3 separate regions of the Homo sapiens genome follow, and regions 1 and 3 are each linked to region 2. Evidence: promoter capture Hi-C in 16 types of primary human blood cells and fetal thymus (Javierre and others, 2016). All regions are on one chromosome and are shown on one strand. Each heading gives the region's core, a stretch centred on a gene start or on the middle of the fragment in contact. The rest is flanking DNA. Distances are from core to core; before and after follow the strand shown. Region 1 holds the start of TFB2M (transcription factor B2, mitochondrial). Region 2 holds the start of ADSS2 (adenylosuccinate synthase 2). Region 3 holds the start of KMO (kynurenine 3-monooxygenase).

Region 1 (3,242 bases), core at 741-3,240, 2.1 Mb after region 2:
CTTAATTCCATTTCCTTAAACCACTCACAGATAGTTGAACAAACAATAACATACGTTGAGAAACTAAAAATATACCTCCAAATGTGGAATAAAAGTTTTGTCACTTTCGAGCGCAACCACTTTGGCACCAGCTTCAAGTAATGCCTGAGTCAGGATTCCAGGACCTGGCACATTAACAGAACGAAAAGTTTATTTGTACAAGAAACATAATCTCTTTCAATACCAAACTTTCATTAGATGTTTCACACGTTATTACCTGGTTTTTAAATCTGACAGCATCCGCAAAGTAGATGTCACTCTCCTTTTTACATATAAGGAAACAGGAGATTATATATACTTATTTGACTCCAGCGTCAAAAGTGATGCAGCTTGGCTTTGAAATCATTGTCAGCGACTGCAAAACCTGCACTCTTTTTTTTTTTTTTTTGAGACGAAGTCTCACTCTGTCACCCAGGCTGGAGTGCAGTGGGGCAATCTCGGCTCACTGCAACCTCTGCCTCTTGGGTTCAAGCGATTCTCCTGCCTCAGCCTCCCGAGTAGCTGGGATTACAGGCGCCCGCCACCACGCCCGGCTAATTTTTGTATTTTAAGCAGAGACGGAGTTTCACCATGTTGGCCAGGCTGGTCTGGAACTCCTGACCTCAAGGGAACCACTCGCCTCGGCCTCTGAAAGTGCTGGATTACAGGCGTGAGCCACCGCACCAGGTCAAAACTTGCACTCTTCATCACCATGATTCACTACCTCTTAGAAGAAAAAAGTCACAGCAAAATAGATTGCCTCTAGCCTATCACTTCCTCACGGACTACACGGATGCTTTAACCATCAAAGAGATTGTCAAGCCTAAACAGAACTGACTCCCTGTGATATGAAATGGTGCTTTAAAAAACTATCATTCAAAAAGCCTATAAATCTTGTGTTCTTAGCATCCTGCTATGGTCTATAGGGAATGCACGGAAGAATAAGATAACATCATTTTTTCAGCTGGCAGAGGCTTGCAACTCTTTTGGGGAGATAAGATCTAAGAGCATGTTTTATCAAAATATTGTGTAAAGTGCAAGCTGCTACAGAAATACTTTGTGGTGTCATTAACGATACAGACTCTACGCTTATGTAGTGGGCAATCTCTCCAACTAAGGAGCTTCAAACAAAGACCCGTATCTGGACGGGCGCAGTGGCTCACGCCTCTAATCCCAGCATTTTGGGAGACCTAGGGGGGAGGATCACGAGGTCAAGAGATCGAGACCATCCTGGCCAACACGGCGAAATCCCGTCTCTAGTAAAAATAAGAAAATTAGCTGGGCGTGGTGGCGCGCGCCTGTAGTTCTTGCTACTCGGGAGGCTGAGGCAGGAGAATCGCCTGAACCCGGTACGCGGAGGTTGCAGGGAGCCGAGATCGCCCCACTGCACTCCAGCCTGGCAACACAGCGAGACTCCGTCTCAAAGCAAAAGAACAACAAAAAAGACCCCCCAGTATCTAAAATAGCACCCCGAGGAGGGTCAATACGTTTGAATAAATGATGAACATCCAAGAAAATGCAATTCAGCTGGACTCACCTGGATTGCACTCCAGCAGTAGGTGTGGAGGTCTACTTGGTTTTCCCAAATAGATTTGCGCCAGGGTCTCAGCCAATCTCCGATCGGTTACGTAACGCTTAAAGTCTAAGCTGGCCTTAGACGCCTTCCTTGGCGGATTCCTGAAATCCGGTTCGGGCCACAGCTGCGGAGAGGAGTCAGAGAGCCCACAGTGGTTCCTCGCCGGCAAATGCTTTCGCGTCGCCGCTTCAGACCCTAAAATGCAAAAGCGACCAGCGCCCGCCAAGGCGGAGAGCCTCAGCCGCCGAGGAAGCCCGACCACTGGGATCCACATGTCCTTGTCTCTCAGGCCCGCTCCAAGAATCACCTAGTGCAGCTACTACAGTGAACCCCACGCAGGGTATCCCACGTGGAACATTTTCTGGCGTCCGGGCCAGGTCAAGCGGAAGTAAACACTAGAGCCTGCGCATGCGAACAGCGGAGCCTTCCTGCTTTTCTCCCTCACTTCCGCTTCCGCCTCGGCTCAGCCGCCCGAGGATTGTGAGTGGACCGTTGAGGAGAGCGACCGACCATCCGGCTGGTGTCCGGACTCGTACTCTATGGTTGTCCGCGCTCTGCGCTTCCTCTCTAGCCGCCAGTGCTCTATGCTCCGCGGTCGCGGGCCGCCAGCCTCCAGCCGGCCAGCCGCGAGGGGTGCGCAGAGGGAGGCGGGGCGGAAAGGCGAGAGGTGTCTCCTCCACCGGAGCCAGGGGAGACCCGAGCAAGCTCCGTGACAGCACGTCGGCCGCCATGTCGCCGAGTGGGGCTGGAAACAGACCCGGCGCCCAGCGGTAGCCCTCCTTGCGCCTCCGATTCCCAGGTGAGGAGAGGAGGAGCGGGATGCAGGGGACCCGCCGGCTCGCGGCCGGGATGGAAAGCCTTTCGGAAGCCTCTCGCTCCTCCCCCTGCGCTGTCCTCCTCCAGCCGCGCAGCCTCTGCCCTCCGGGTGAGGTGTAGCCCGGTCCCCTTACCTCCTCCGCCTCTCAGGTCGCCTGTTTTCCTCTCCTTTCTCAGCTACTGTGGGTCTCCTATTGCTGCGCGTCGCGCCAATTTCTCCCTCCCTAGGGGACTAGCGCCAGAAGTCGTTCCTCACCCGGCTCCTGGAGGAGCCTGCGGCTTCCACGGTCTCCGTTCCTTTCTGTTGTGTGGCCCACAGCCCGCTCTCCCCACCCTCGTGGATGGTTTTCATTTCCCCCCCACACCTGGTCCCCCCCATCACTACCACTTTGGTTGTCAAGAACCGCGTGGTGTCTCCCTTCCATTCCTCTCTCTGGGCCAATATTTTCCTTAATTTTTTCAGTTTGTGTGTTTAAAAGACTTAAAGTTAAGATTAAAAATGAAGATGTAAAAGCTTACAATTCCTTTCTAAGCTTAAAAAGATTAAGACTTTAGGATGCTTACTGTATTCCTTATGTAAACTTAGTCAAACACATCGTACTGTGGAATGCGATTTAAAAGACCCAATTTTGAAGACTAAAAATAGGATGCTGTAATGGAAATTTTGGCAGTCTTTTTTTTTTTACCTATTGGGCAATGTTAGAAGACACGGTTCTTTGAGAGTGTTTTCCGTGTTTCAGGATCAAACTTAGAGCTTTTACCCATTATCCTTACCACCAAGGCAAGAAACGGCAGCCAATCAACTCCGTGTCTTAGAATACGTACAATCCTT
Region 2 (3,527 bases), core at 947-3,446:
TATAAGGAAGGTAGTTAAGTCAAAAATACACAGGTGAGGGAAGTCTGCCCAACAAGGCCCCTCATTTGTTTCTCCACTATCTTCAGCTAACATTTTAAAGCCAAACTTAGTTCCTTCTCAATCACTTCTCTAGCCTTTCCAAGGGCATCAGATCAGGTTGGTCCATGACTTCAAGACTACTTTCTCGGTAACATTAGTAACACCTTCTCCAAGCTACAAACTACTTCTAATATTTCTCCATAGAATATTAAAATTGAGGATCCTTTAGAATAAATACCATAATGGTTGTGTTCTCCAAACCTTCTTACAACCCATAGTGTAGCTCAACCTGAGCTATTTCCATATTAACGAGATGTCAAGATGTCAGTGAAGGAGACACACAGGCCTCAGCCTCTCTCCCGCTGTCGACAGCAAGAAAGCTCGGTATTCGGATACGTCTTCCCCACAGCATGACCAGATCTGAATGTAAGACAAAAGGTAGGTAAAGGCTGGATTTCTGGAGTATTTCCTAAGAAAGTGCGGGGCAGGAATTTAATGGCAACACCCTGAAGATTGCTAAGGTACAAAGTGTGTTGCCAGAGGGGTGGAGAAATAATAGGCTGGAAGGGAAGGAGGGAGAGGTGGTAGTGACAGTTTCCTAAGAGGCAATTAGTGCAACAGCTATTTCAGAATGGGCAGGGTGGATTTCTAAATGAAAACAAAACAAAACGAAACAAGGTAAATCAGAGAATATTTGCAGTATTTGCATTTAGCTTTTTAACATACCTGTGATTTCATTGTTTCTGCATGCTCAAAATGGTATTCAAGGGGGCCTATAACTTACTAGAACATATACAGCATGGCACCATCATATCATGCCATGCATGTTCAAAAACAAATATTCTTGCAACCTAAACAGATAGCAGTTAACTTCAAATATTACATTATGCTTTGTTTTGAAAGTGGTTATTGCTCATCTGCTTAGAATTTTGAAACTGGAGAGAGTTATCTGAGAGCCTTTACAAAGGCCTTACCCTGTATGCTGCGTCAAAGGAAACGACAAATAGGAAGAAAGGTTACACTGAAAACCACGTGTCTCCCGTTAGAAGTACATTACCACCTCGTTTTCCGAAAGTTCACTTTCGATGTCACCTTAACAATGCAAATATTTATTTCCAAATACTCAATTTGACATCCATGTATTTACTTCCCTCACTTTTTTTGAACAGAGAAGGGATTCCTTCCTCTGGGACCAACTAGTAAAAGTAATTTCTCCTTAACTTTCATGTATGGAGCACACTGTAAAAACAAAAACAAAAACAAGAAACTCAGGGCCCTAAAACAACAGTCCAAAGCCCAGAGGTGGGTGGGTTTGGATGTCAACAAAGTGGACCAGAGGAAGCAAAGCACTGCATGCCACGGTCCTGCAGATGGGGGATCGGTGAGTCTGATTTCAGGACGTTTCGAAACAATCCACTCCCACTCCGCCGCCCTGGGCGGGGCGGGGGGGCGGTGATGGGGGGTTCTGCCGTCGCGCCGGGTCTCCGCCCGCAGTCGGAAGAGTTGGGAGCAGGCCTCGGGCGGTAGCTCCTCAAACTCGGACCGCATCCCACCTCCACCCCGGCCTCAGTCCCGGCGCTGAGCACCACTCGCCAGACGCAAAACTGCAACTGCCAGGCATCGCGCATCTCTCAAAGGCTCCCCGCCAGCCCACCTCTTCCTCCAGGGCCACCCCAAGTTTCACCCGACGCTCCAGGTCAGGGGTCCCCGACCTCCCGCCATTTCTCCACGTAGCCGCAGCTCAGGACAGGAGGAGAGAGCCTCAAGGTGACACCTCATTTTGGCCAGTGGATCCGGGTTCTGGGTCCGAGTTCCCGGGCACCAGGAGCCAGGCAGCCCGAGCTCCCGGGCCCGGCTTCCCATGAGAGGCCCCGTCGCCTCACCTGGCAGCGGCACACGATGTCGGCGTCCTGCGCCAGCAGGTCCACCACCTTCCCTTTGCCTTCGTCGCCCCACTGCGCACCGAGCACCACCGTCACCCGGTTTCCTCCGGGCCGCGCCCTGGGGCGGCCGCAATCGCCGTTGGGCAGGGAGGATGCCGCCGGGTAGGTCTCGGCGAACGCCATGGCTCCAGTGACGCGAGGAGAGCCCGAAGGAGAGGCGGCCGGCGAGGAGTGAGCGAACTGAACTGCTCTGCGGCCGCCAGCCACATGCAGAGGAAGAAGGAGCCAGAGGCCGGCCCCGCCCCCGCCCCGCCGGGCCGCCACCCTCCAGCCAGTCCCCGCCCCGCTCTCCGCCACAGCCCGCTCAAGGGGGTACCATGACTGCCCCGCGCAGGCCGGCCTCGGCAGCACCGCCCGCAGGAAGAGGCCCTGGTGGCGGCAACGGCCGCCACCCCGGACCGAGGCCACGCCCCTTCCGCGGCCTGGCGCGCCACTCCCGTGCAAACCTCGCGAGCGGAAAAGGTCAGGGGCGGGGCTTCGAGAGCGCTTCTCCTTCAGCACCCCGCCTACCCGCTCTACCTCTCGCTTTCAAACTGGAGAGGCGCGGAAGCGCGTGTGGAGCGTCGGACTACAAATCCCAGCATGCAACGCTCTGGGCTGCGGCGGTGTATTCTGGGGCCACTGTGTCTGCCATCTGCAGGTTTGTCTGGATTTGTCTTTATTAAGGAATGAATGTGTACAAAATACAAACTGTGGAATTTCGCAGTACAAACAGCATAAAATCGGAACGTGTAAGTGTAGAATTGGAAATTAAAAGTCCGGAAGTAACAGAGATGGGGACAGGGATCAAAAAAGACAAAATTCAAAAGTAAGGCAATAAGATAAAGGACATGAGACCTGAAATCAATAGATCAAATAAAGTCCTAATCCTCATTTTACATAGTAGTAACAAAGGCTCAGAGAGGAGGAGTGGATTACCTATGTCGCATATAGTACATATATGCAGATACCGTCATGCACTTCTTTATTTTTTAATCCCCACAACCATATAAGGTAGGTGATCCTCTATTATCCTTATTTTACAGGATTTAAAAGCTGGGTAACTTGCCCTAGTGAGGCTTGAATTGGTACTTCGATAATCTAAGTCCAGAGCCCATGTCCTTCCTGTAGATTCCACTGTCTCTCAGTTACATTTGTAACTAGATTCTGGTGTATACCTACTGTTCATCTAATGCCCTTTCGACACCAACACAAATTAACTATGATGTTTAATTCTGATAAAAGGTGCTTCGAAAAAAAGTGGGAATGGAATCACATTATATGTACCGTCTCCCAAATCGCCTGTACATACTGTATGTTCACTAATGGTCCCTAGAGTACACTTTAGTATTTTATTTCTAGTCAATGAGTTAAGTCAGGAACATTGAGAACCTGCTATTAACTAACTAAGTGTCCTGGGCACTGATAACATAGGAGAAATAAAGATACAATTCAGCCCTCAAGGATTCAAATTATTTGGTCTATTGATTAGTAAACAATTATAATACTATGTGATAATTGTTGTCTATCTTGGCCTTATTACAAGATCACAAACATTTTGGAAAC
Region 3 (3,333 bases), core at 294-2,793, 2.9 Mb before region 2:
AGTCAACACTAAACTATTTTAGGGATGCATCTATCATGGTACAATTATACATAAAAGCAAAGAAAGTTGGTATGGCAGTTACCTCTACGAAGGAGGGGTGATTAACAGGGGGCACGTTAGACTTCTGGGATTCTGGCAATATTCTCTCTCTGCACCTAAATGGTAGTTACATGGATACTTGCTTTACAGTAACTTATTATACTGTTCATTTGTGTTATAGTTCATAATTTTTAAAAGATTTTTTAACAATGATACATATTGATACTGAGGAATTGATACATATTCTCTACATATTGATATTGAAGAATTCTCAAGCTATATGTTGTAAAGTGAGAAATATGATGTGGAAAAAGTTTTTAAATGTATGTTTAAAAAGAAAGGAAGGAAGGGAATGAGAGAGTGAGAGAAAGAGAGAGAGAAAAGGAGAGAGAGGAAGAACAAGAAAGACATAATCAACGTGTAGAAGAATACGGTAACCCACACACCAAAACAGTTGTTGTCTTTGGGCAGGAGGAATAGGTGGCCAAGGGTCAAGGTTAGCAGGATTACTATTCACCGTGTACTCTTTTGTGTCTTTAATTTCATGCCATGTTAATGTATTACCTATTCAAAATAAATAAAATACCTAATCATGCTTATCCACAAGGGGTCACTATTGAATGCCATTTAACTCTAGTTCCTAACCAGGGAAAAAAACGTTCTGAATTCTTTATGTGCTTAACAGGAAGTGAAGAAACAACTTCATTTATGTTCTTATTTTACATTACACCACATCATGTTCCAGAAAACAATTGCCATTCGCAAATCATGCACAAAAGTATAACATTTAAAACGGAGTGAAAAAGACAAAAAAGTGAATAGATAATATGAAGTCGGGAATGAGTTTACAGAAGCGTTGTGTCAGTCATCTCCCCTAGTGGTAATTAGACTCTAAATTTTCGATTCTAAAATTAGATTCTAAATTTTCTAGCATCTGGGCTGAAAAAAAAAAGGGGAAGTATGGTCAGTTACACAATTCAAAATGTTGATCGGGAGAATATTAAGACCTTGCAGAGAATTTTCCCTGGTAGAGCCTGTTAAAAACAATCCATGAGGACCCTTTAGATGAAATTTTTGATTGGTCTTAACCACAAAAATGATCCACAGATGAATTATGAAACCATGTCATCTTACTCTCTAAGGGAGGTATAAGATGTTTTTGGACTTCAGATGAGAAGGGCTCCATTCATGGTTAATCATGAATGAAAACGAAACTAAGAATATATGCTGTAGAAAAAGAAGAAGAAAAGCCACAAGACTGCTTAAAAATTTCTGTGTCTTACACAGAAGATAGAAAAAATAGAGTGTCTCCAATTGGATGGATTTTTTAAAAAATTTGGTTATTGTAATGGATTTATTTTTTCTTAGAGCTGAGCTGATTGTACTTTGGCCAACTAATGGGTTAATACTGTCAAGGGAAATTAGCCCTGACTAAACATTGCCGCTGGCTCATGAATGCACTAGGCTTGGGGCAGTATAAAAACTCAGAGAAATCAGTGTGTAGGAGACACAGAAATCAGTGTCACTCAGTGACAGAAGCAACAATAATTGTGAAAAATACTTCAGCAGTTATGGACTCATCTGTCATTCAAAGGAAAAAAGTAGCTGTCATTGGTGGTGGCTTGGTAAGAATTTTCAGATGGATTACTATTGTTGGTGGTATTATATTAACTATTATTACTCGTAATGATTATTATTCGTCACTTCTGCAAATTGTTAATTTTCTTGTGAAAACTCTGATATTTAAATACAGCTATTTTGTTTATTTTTTTAATATTTTTATTTTCATAGATTTAATATAGTATGAGTTTTAATCTGTTCTTTTTCAGGAAAGGTATTTTATAGCCATTAAATACAAAGGTTTCTGTTTTCCCTCATCATTTTGGTTTAGGATTTGTTAAAAAGCAAAAATAATGCAAATTGAATTTGATTTTATCCCCAAATTGGCTATGTTTTTAGGAACAGGAATTAGTCTCAATATTCATTTTAATAAAAACATTTGTTCCGCTTTGTTTAATAACTCAGTTAATGCTGTCTAATGAGAATAAAAGGGTCAAGAAACATGAAGCTAACGTCAAAGTATCATGTTGAATGTTCACTAGTTATATGAGTAATTGGGAATAAGATTTATGTGGTCGCCTGACTTACTTGACTCTTCCAGTGGAGCACCTAAGACAGTGGAGTGAGGTGTTCACCTCTCACTGAGCACGTGACGTAAAGGTGCTGGGGCTTCCCCCATACCTAACAAGACGGAAGGAGAGGTCACTCTCTGCTTTCATAGTTATGGTGCCAAAGGTAGTTCTGTTTAACATGGGTCTGCTCCGATTCAACTTTGCTTTTTCCCATCTCAGCAGAATTTCTGTTTCAGAATACAAACATCCCAGTTAGTCAAGGTTAAATCATTTCCCTATCACCTTTGGTCAAATCATTTGGAGACTTTTCATTAATTATTCATATATCCACTCAACAAAAAATTTATTGAGGGCGTAACACTGTTCTAGGCTGAATATAGATGGTATATTTTATGCCACACATGTATTTATACAGTATATGCTGTCTTTTGTTCTGCCTTCCTTAGTGTCTTTTCCCCAAAGTGCTAGAACAGTTCTTTTAATATTTCTGATTCTAAATTTTCATTTAGAAATGCTATCACATGATGTGTTGGTCACTGGTTGGGACATGTGTCGTCACTGCTTCATACTAGGCTTGTGTCCAATCTGTCCTATCAAAATGTTGCACAAAATGAGAATTCATGTGTTCAACAAAATCTGATTACTATGTACCAATATTGTTTTAGGTAGTAGGGATGCGAGGGTGAGAATTCCAGAGAAGAAAAAGACAAGGAAGAAGAAAACAAATAAGACAATTTCAGTTAAAGAGAAGCACTATGAAAGAAACGAAAACAGGGTAGTGCTGTAGAGAGTATCTTTGGGAGTACCTGTTTAGAATGTGGTCAGGGACAGCTGCTCTGCTGAAGGGACATGTGACCAGAGACCTGAATGATCAGATAGAACTAACTACGTGAAGATCTTGAGAAAGAGCATTTCAGGCAGAGGGAACAGCAGGAAGAGAAACCCTCAGGCAATAATGAGCTGCCCAAGTTCAAGGAGCAGAAAGAAAGGCAGGAACTGCCTGAGGCCAGAGAAGAGTAGCTGATGAGGCCAGAAAAGCTGACAGACCAGATCTTGTAGGATCTTAGAGGTCCAGGCAAGAAGATCAGATTTTGTTCAAATTACAATGGGAAACTATTGGAGGATTTTAGGCAGGAAATTAAGTTGTGATTTTAAAAGGTCC

The links. The method cuts DNA at HindIII sites, captures the fragments that hold promoters and counts their contacts. A CHiCAGO score of 5 or more calls a contact.
Region 1: the fragment with the promoter of TFB2M here is called in contact with the fragment with the promoter of ADSS2 in region 2 in 1 of 17 cell types (fetal thymus); the score reaches 5.3 in fetal thymus.
Region 3: the fragment with the promoter of KMO here is called in contact with the fragment with the promoter of ADSS2 in region 2 in 1 of 17 cell types (activated CD4 T cells); the score reaches 5.2 in activated CD4 T cells.

What each region holds. Positions count from the first base shown.
Region 1 is chr1:246,564,271-246,567,512 of GRCh38, forward strand. TFB2M (transcription factor B2, mitochondrial) reads right to left here and starts at 1,991. Exons shown (of 8, transcript NM_022366.3): 1 at 1,556-1,991; 2 at 76-164. The coding sequence starts at 1,868. It overlaps CNST (consortin, connexin sorting protein), which reads left to right and starts at 2,186. Exons shown (of 11, transcript NM_152609.3): 1 at 2,186-2,393. RefSeq lists enhancers at 1,681-1,960, 2,191-2,250, 2,291-2,790. The HindIII fragment of the contact is 6,532 bases long and covers 1-2,922 here.
Region 2 is chr1:244,449,713-244,453,239 of GRCh38, forward strand. ADSS2 (adenylosuccinate synthase 2) reads right to left here and starts at 2,197. Exons shown (of 13, transcript NM_001126.5): 1 at 1,923-2,197. The coding sequence starts at 2,105. It also overlaps a transcript of CATSPERE not described here. RefSeq lists silencers at 1,377-1,656, 2,097-2,586. The HindIII fragment of the contact is 6,677 bases long and covers 1-3,527 here.
Region 3 is chr1:241,530,835-241,534,167 of GRCh38, forward strand. KMO (kynurenine 3-monooxygenase) reads left to right here and starts at 1,544. Exons shown (of 15, transcript NM_003679.5): 1 at 1,544-1,664. The coding sequence starts at 1,611. RefSeq lists an enhancer at 1,127-1,276. The HindIII fragment of the contact is 7,761 bases long and covers 1-3,333 here.